Linked DNA regions of Homo sapiens: region 1 is linked to region 2. Evidence: promoter capture Hi-C in 16 types of primary human blood cells and fetal thymus (Javierre and others, 2016). All regions are on one chromosome and are shown on one strand. The core of a region is centred on a gene start or on the middle of the fragment in contact, and the rest is flanking DNA. Distances in the headings are between cores, read along the strand shown.

Region 1 (3,396 bases), core at 409-2,908, 120 kb before region 2:
TGGCCTCGTGACAACAGTGGCAGAGGCTGCAGCGATGCAGCTACAAGCCAGGGAACCCGGAGGATTGGTGGTAACCACCTGCAGCTGGAAGAGGCAAAGAGGATGCTCTCCCACAGCCTTCAGAGGGAACAGGCCCCTGGCAAGACCTTGACTTTAGAGCTGGGCCTCCACAATGATGAGAGAAGCCATTTCTGTTGTTTGAAGGCACCCAGTTGATGGCAATTGGTTACAGCGTCCACAGGAGGCTGAAACAAGAGCGAAGACTGTTCCAGCAGAGGGAGGAGCCAGCGCAGATGACTTCACGAGAAAGTTCCTAGGCCTGCTGGAGCAGCGGCCGGGACGCCCAAAGGAGCGGGAGCCCTACAGGCAGGCAGGGATGGTCCCAGAAGGAGTTGGTGCCCAGCCACAGGGTCTTGTAGACCATGGTGATGATGTTTGTTTTATTCTAAGAACGCTGGGAAGTCATTGAAGGATTTTACAAGAAAGATGAAACATGATTTGAAGTTCATTTTTGAAAGATCGCATCAGCTGCTCTGTGAAGAGGAGTTTTGAAAGAGGCAAGAGAGGAGGCAGGACAGCCACTGTGGCCTGCAGGTCCTCAAACGATTACACAGAGTTACCGTGTGACCCACAGTTCCACTCCTCTGTATAGACCCACGAGAAACGAAAACATATATTCATACAGAAACCTGTACAAAATGTTTAAAGCAGCATTATTTGTAATAGCCCAAAGATAGAAACGACATAAATGTCCACCAATGAATCCATACAATGAGGTAGTTATTTGGCCATAGAAAGGAATGAAGTGCCGATAGGACAGCATGAATGAACCCGGGAACCATCACGATAAGTGAAGGAAGCCATTCACAAAAGACCACGGATTGTATGATTCCATTTAGACAAAATGCCCAGAAGAGGCAAATCTCTAGAGACAGAAAGTAGATTACTAGTTGCCTAGGGCTGTAAGGGTGAGCGTTGGGGAGGGGAGATAGCTGAAGGGTCAGAGCTTCTTTTTGAGGTGATACAAATGCTGTAAAATGGACCACGGTGACGATTGCAGCTACATGGAATATACTAGCAACCATTGAATTGTATACTTTTTTTTTTTAAGTGAAAGCAAGCTTATTAGAGAAGTAAAGAAACAAAAGCATGGCCACTCCATAGGCAGAGTAGCCTGAATTGTCCACTTTAAATGGGAGAATTACATAATATATGAATTACATTTCAATAACGCTGTTTAAAAGAAAAAAAAAAGAGTGAAATCTCAGAGGAGGCCACTGAGCACTCTGGTGGAAGAAAATGGTGACTTAGGCCAGGGTCATAGAAGTAGAGACAGCAAGAAGGGATGAAAACAGTGGATTGTGGAGGCCGAATAGACAACCGATGAATAGGTCAACACCTGCTGTCCATCTGTACGAGGGAATATTATTCAGCCATAAAAAGAAATGAAATGAACCTTGCTGCAACATGATGTTAGGTGAAATAAGCCAGACACAAAGGCCCCATATGGAATGATGTCACTTACACGAGGTTTCTACAATAGGCAAATTCATAGAGACAGAAAGAATGGAGGTTACCAGGAACTGGGAGGAGAAAAGAATGGGACATTATTATCTCACAGTTCCAGAATTTGTTTGGGATGATTTAAAAAAAAAAAAAAAAGCTCTGGAAATAGATCATCAGGATGGTTGCACAATGTTTTGAATGTAAATGCCACTGAATTGTACACCTTAAAAGGGCTCAAATGGTAAATATTATGCTATGTATATTTTACCATGATGAAAATAAACGTACAAAAGTGAGACAGCAGTGAGTCTAGGCCTCCCTTTTAAGAAGCGATGGCATCAAAGAGAGCAGAGGAAGAGAGATGGAAGTTAGGAAGGGGTTTTTCAAAGAGCAGATTCACGGGAAACGATTCATTCGTGCAGGAGAGAAAGGATGAAGGAGGAGCGGGGTCCCTTGAATGTCCACAGGCAGAAGACGAGGGCAGAAGGGGAGGAGGTTGTCTTTGTGGCGGACAGAGGAGCTGTGAATAGGGAGGGAAACAAGGGTGTGCCTTCCGTTTACTCAGCACAGGAAGAAGCAAGGCGAGGAAGAACAGGCTCCTTTTTGAAATGCAAAAGCCTGTTCTTATCTAAACACTCTTGCATAAGACAAACAAGAGCGCTACCCAGTTGGTGACTTGGGACAGGAATGCCTGCCACCCTCTTAAACGTTCTCTCCCCTCCCCTAGCCTAGACTGAAGACCTCGGCCTCCAGCTTCTCTCCCAGACCCTTTCTTGGCTGGATGAGGTCACTCACCCCTTTTGAAAGCTCCACAGGCATTTCTGGACCAAGTTCCCTCACTCTTTTAAATGGTTCTGTAATTGCTTCATTCGCATAAACCTGCCCTCCTGGGCATCTGAACAGCCCCAGGGCAGGGCCTGACTGCAGAGCCAGCTTCCTTACGCCAAGGCCCTCGTGCCTGCGTCCCTCCTCGCCTTCAGCCATGAGGTTGCCTGGCCAGCGGTGGGGGTCGCCTGGATCGTGGGGATGTTCCCCCCACCCACCTGGCCCCACCAGTGAAGGGCCCCAGCTGACACCATCTCTCTTGTTTCCTGTTTTCCTGGGTCAGACCCAGCTGGAGGTCTGCAAATTCTGAAGCAGTTCTCAACCCTGGGTGCACATTTTAATCATTTTTTACAAAATACGAATGCCTGATGTCCAGCCCTGACACTGGTCTGCTTGGTCTGGGGGTGAGGCCCTGGAACGGATGTGTTTAGATTTCCCATGAGACTCTGATGTGCAGCCAGGGTACCAACCTCTGCTCTAAAGCAGGTGAGATTGCCCTGGGGACTTCATTAGAATCAGTGCCCAATTCCTCCACCCCCGCAGAGATTTCGCTTCTGGAAGTCCAGAGTCGAGGTCCAAGAATCTGTGCATTTTAACAATACAGCCCCCAGGGGAGCTTGATGAAGGTCCCTTGGGAAGTTCAGGGCATGGTGCAGGGGACACTGTCTCTCTCTCCTTCCCTCTCATCTGCATCAGCTCCCCAGGCAGGTGGCACTTTCTCTGGACAGGTCTGGAGTCAGGGCTGCAAGGCTGGTTTATGCCTGGAGGTCGGGGGATGATGTGAGGTGTGCATAGAGAGAAGCCCCTGTGAGGAACGGGGACCACTCCTGCTCACCCACATCAGTGACAGCCCAGCCTGGGGCTGGCCCTGGAAGGCCAAAGAGTGAACAGGTCTGGGGGCTGGTGCTGGGTTGAGCTCAAGGGCCTGGGGCTGGGGTCTCCATTCCAGATTCCTCCTTCCCTCTGTCACTTCAAGTACCATCAGAGCCACCTGGGGATTTTGTCCTGAGTCACTCTGAGGCAGAGCAGGTGAGGCTGTGCTGGGGAGGAACATGGGGGCCTGAG
Region 2 (3,365 bases), core at 765-3,264:
GGGTGCGCCATCCAGGCAGCCTCTGCCCCTGCCCTCTATGCTCTGAAATCCATCTCATGTCACCAACATTAATTTAGCAGCTACTAAGCTCCAGTCACTGTGCAGGGCACTCGGGGTCATGAGTTATTAAAACCTAGTCCCTGCTCCTGAGATACAGAGAGCTGTCGCAGTGACACATTGCAACCAGTTCATGCCAGTTTGTACCAGCTCATGGGAGCCTATGGCTAAATTTTCAGGAATACTACAAGCCCATCATCAAAGCATCATTAGTTTAAAATTATCATCCTTGGAATATTTACACCATGGAAATTGGCAAATGCCCCAAATCAAGCCCTTTTGTGGAGGACCACTGCAGCTGTGTGAGGCTGGGTGAGTGACCTATCCTCTCCAAGACCTCCTTTTAGTATATCCTTAAACAGGTTAACAATTGCACCTCCTTCACTGACTACTGTGAGGCTGAAATGAGATCATCCACAGCACGCTCACCATTCAGTGCCTGGCAGACAGAAAGTGCCCAACAATTCATAGCTGCTGTCATTTTTAGAATGTAATGATGTTATTATGCAAATAAGTAAGTACCACAGTGCGCTTGGTATAGCTACAGTGTTAGAGGCGCATAGATGAGGAAGTGGTTAACTCTGCATGGCGATCAGGGCAGCAGTCCAGGAAGGCCTTGAACCAAGCCCTGAAGAACAAGTTGAATGTGCCCGAGTAGACCAGGTAGACCAGATGGGCCAGGAAAGGAGAGGTTGTCCAAGAAGAAGGAATGGTGTGTGCAAAGGCGGGGAGGCATGGGGGGCTTGCGGAGCAGTCTGAAATGACCGGCCTACAGGGCTAGCAAGGGAGTCGTAATGAGCACCTACTGTCAGGCCCTTTGGAAACCATGATATCAACGGGTCTTCTCCATAAAGCCCTATACCCTGCCCGCTTTGCAGGGAGCACATCTAAGCTGGGAGGGGCTACATGCTTTGTTTGCTTTGCTTTGCTTTGCTTTGCTTTGCTTTGCTTTGCTTTGCTTTGTAGGGGAGCACACCCAAGCTGGGAGGGGCTACCGTCTTTGACCACAGAGCAGGTCAGCAGCTGAGAAGAGCTGAGCCTGACTCTGTTCTGTCCGACTCTAGGACAGAACAGGGAGAGGACTCTGTTTCACACCAGCCTCCAGGATGGCCCACCTCTCCAAAGGCGGTGGAAACTATCTCCAGGAATCCCTGGCTGACAGAGCTCGAGGAGGGGTGGCTGCTGACCTCCGGCACCCCAAGCCTCCCAGTACCAGGAGCATTGGCCACTCCCAAGATTCTCAGATGCATGTCCCATTGTCCCTGAGGCTTCCACAGCTGGTCCTCACTACCCCATTCCCTTCTAGCCCTTTCCAGATGAGAGTGGCCAGGGTTCATGGTCATGCTCACATCCTCCCTGGACACACACTTTTATTCTGCCTCCCTCTGATGGCTGGCATAGGATGACACAGCCACTTAGGGAATAACTGAAGAGACGAGTCATAATAGATATTCTCATTAGTCCATTCTTCCCCGCCAAGGCCTCCCTGGCCGTTCACCTCTCCGCCTGTCTTCCCTTGCTAGCAAATTTATGTCATTCCTCCATTGGCCAGAAGGGGTCACTGCTTCCATATGCCCCTAAACTTCCCGGGTAACAGGCTCCTCTCCGCCCCACTTCCAGCGGTGCAGCCGGCCGTGCTCCACACCCCACCCACCAAAGCCTGTGTCACCTTCAGAGAGACTCGCTGCTGAGTTCCAGCAAGCGAGGATGACGGACAAGCCTGCGTGCCAGCAATGCTCTCATCGTGTAAGCCAACCAACTGCCCTTTGCTGGGCAGCGGTCAAGGTCTGCAGATGGAGCTTGGCCATTGTTACAGCTATTTAAAATCATGTTTAAATAATATGATGTGATCATCTCTAATGCCATCTTGATCACCACTTAACACAGGCGGGGGAGATGAGGCAAGCTCAGCCTCTTTCATACACCTTTGATGTTCTAAGGAGAGCCAAAACCAAGACAGGTTGGAATCAGCTTCTTTTCTTCTGCTGGAGGCCAGGTCTGGGTCAGGGTGTGTAAATTACCAGCAAGCAGTCAACAGTCCCCACTCCTGTGCCTGTTGAAGGCATAACTCATGGAACCCAGTTCTCTCCCCCGGGAGGCCAGGGGCAGACCCACATCTGGAGTCTGCATGAACACAGAACTTCTGGAGTCATTGCTGTTTAGTCATGCTAGAATTTAAAATGTCTAGATTAGCCTTTCTGGACTGAAAAAATCATGGAAAAGTGGTTCTCAAATCATGAATCTGGGCCTAAAGCATGGGGCAAGTACATCCTAGTCTGTGCAGAACACACTGAGAGCTATTGAGGTATTGGAGTTACCTGTGTAATGCCACGCTAAATCACATCCCATTTTATATGAGATTCAGGTATTGACGATAGGATGATAAGTGCCAAAAGACTCTACAAAAATGTGGAAAACAACAGAATAATCAAAGAAATTATATGTACTAATGTATTCTATCTGCAAATTGAGGAAAGACAGTCATTATCCCATTAACCTGTAGAACAGACTCCTCGGTTCAGCGTATAGAACGCAAGTCAGTTCAGAGCAGAAACTAGGAACTACAGCATCAGAGAAACAGCCTGGAATTTGAAGTCAGGAGATAGGATTCTGGTCCAAGTCCTGATAGGAATAACACATGACCTTGGACAAGATGCTTAATGTCTGCGCCTCAGTTTCCTCAACTGTAAAACAGGGACCATAATGTCTACTCTGCTTGGCTACTATGAAAATTAGGAGCAACAACAGAAGCAAACATGCTAAGTCCTGAATCCCTGCTTCTTGGACCTGGCTGAGATCGGGAAGTAGTAATCCTGAGCTGAAGCAGAGAAGATGTGTCATCTCCCAGTGCAAATGAGAAAACCCAGTGGGTACCAAGGCTGACCAGGACACTGGTACTGTCCATTTTCTCCAGAGGGAAGTTGGGGCTATTCAGAGAGAGTCCCATCCATCTCCCATCTTTGCACTTCTTTGTATTTTTCTTCCTCCACTCTTTCGGTTCCCTCCTCCATCCTCTAAAGACAGAAGAGTCTCCAGTTAGTATCAGGTCAGTATATGCTCATCTGGGCAAGTGGGAGCCAGGACATGTACCTGGGCTGGGATCTGGAACAATGGTGGAGTGCACAGCAGAGGGAAAGGGCTTGCCCATGGCTACATAGCACAGAACTGATGGGGACCAAAAGGACACTTTTCCAGGAGCAAAGCTAGAGTTGAGAACGAAATAGCAAGTCAGATGATGTTTCAGTCTGAGGAGACAGGCAGAGAACCTGGTGAAAGGCATGGGCTGGGCTAGCAGCCAGTGCTGGTGA

Evidence for each region. The method cuts DNA at HindIII sites, captures the fragments that hold promoters and counts their contacts. A CHiCAGO score of 5 or more calls a contact.
Region 1: the fragment with the promoter of LINC00469 here is called in contact with a fragment that was not itself captured in region 2 in 1 of 17 cell types (non-activated CD4 T cells); the score reaches 5.6 in non-activated CD4 T cells.

What each region holds. Positions count from the first base shown.
Region 1 is chr17:73,826,799-73,830,194 of GRCh38, reverse strand. It overlaps LINC00469 (long intergenic non-protein coding RNA 469), which reads left to right and starts at 1,658. Exons shown (of 4, transcript NR_027146.1): 1 at 1,658-1,747. RefSeq lists enhancers at 1-319, 320-821, 1,812-2,321. The HindIII fragment of the contact is 4,592 bases long and covers 1,124-3,396 here.
Region 2 is chr17:73,708,594-73,711,958 of GRCh38, reverse strand. No RefSeq gene overlaps it. Among named protein-coding and RNA genes, the nearest start is that of SDK2, 66 kb to the right of the region's middle. The HindIII fragment of the contact is 4,322 bases long and covers 1-3,365 here.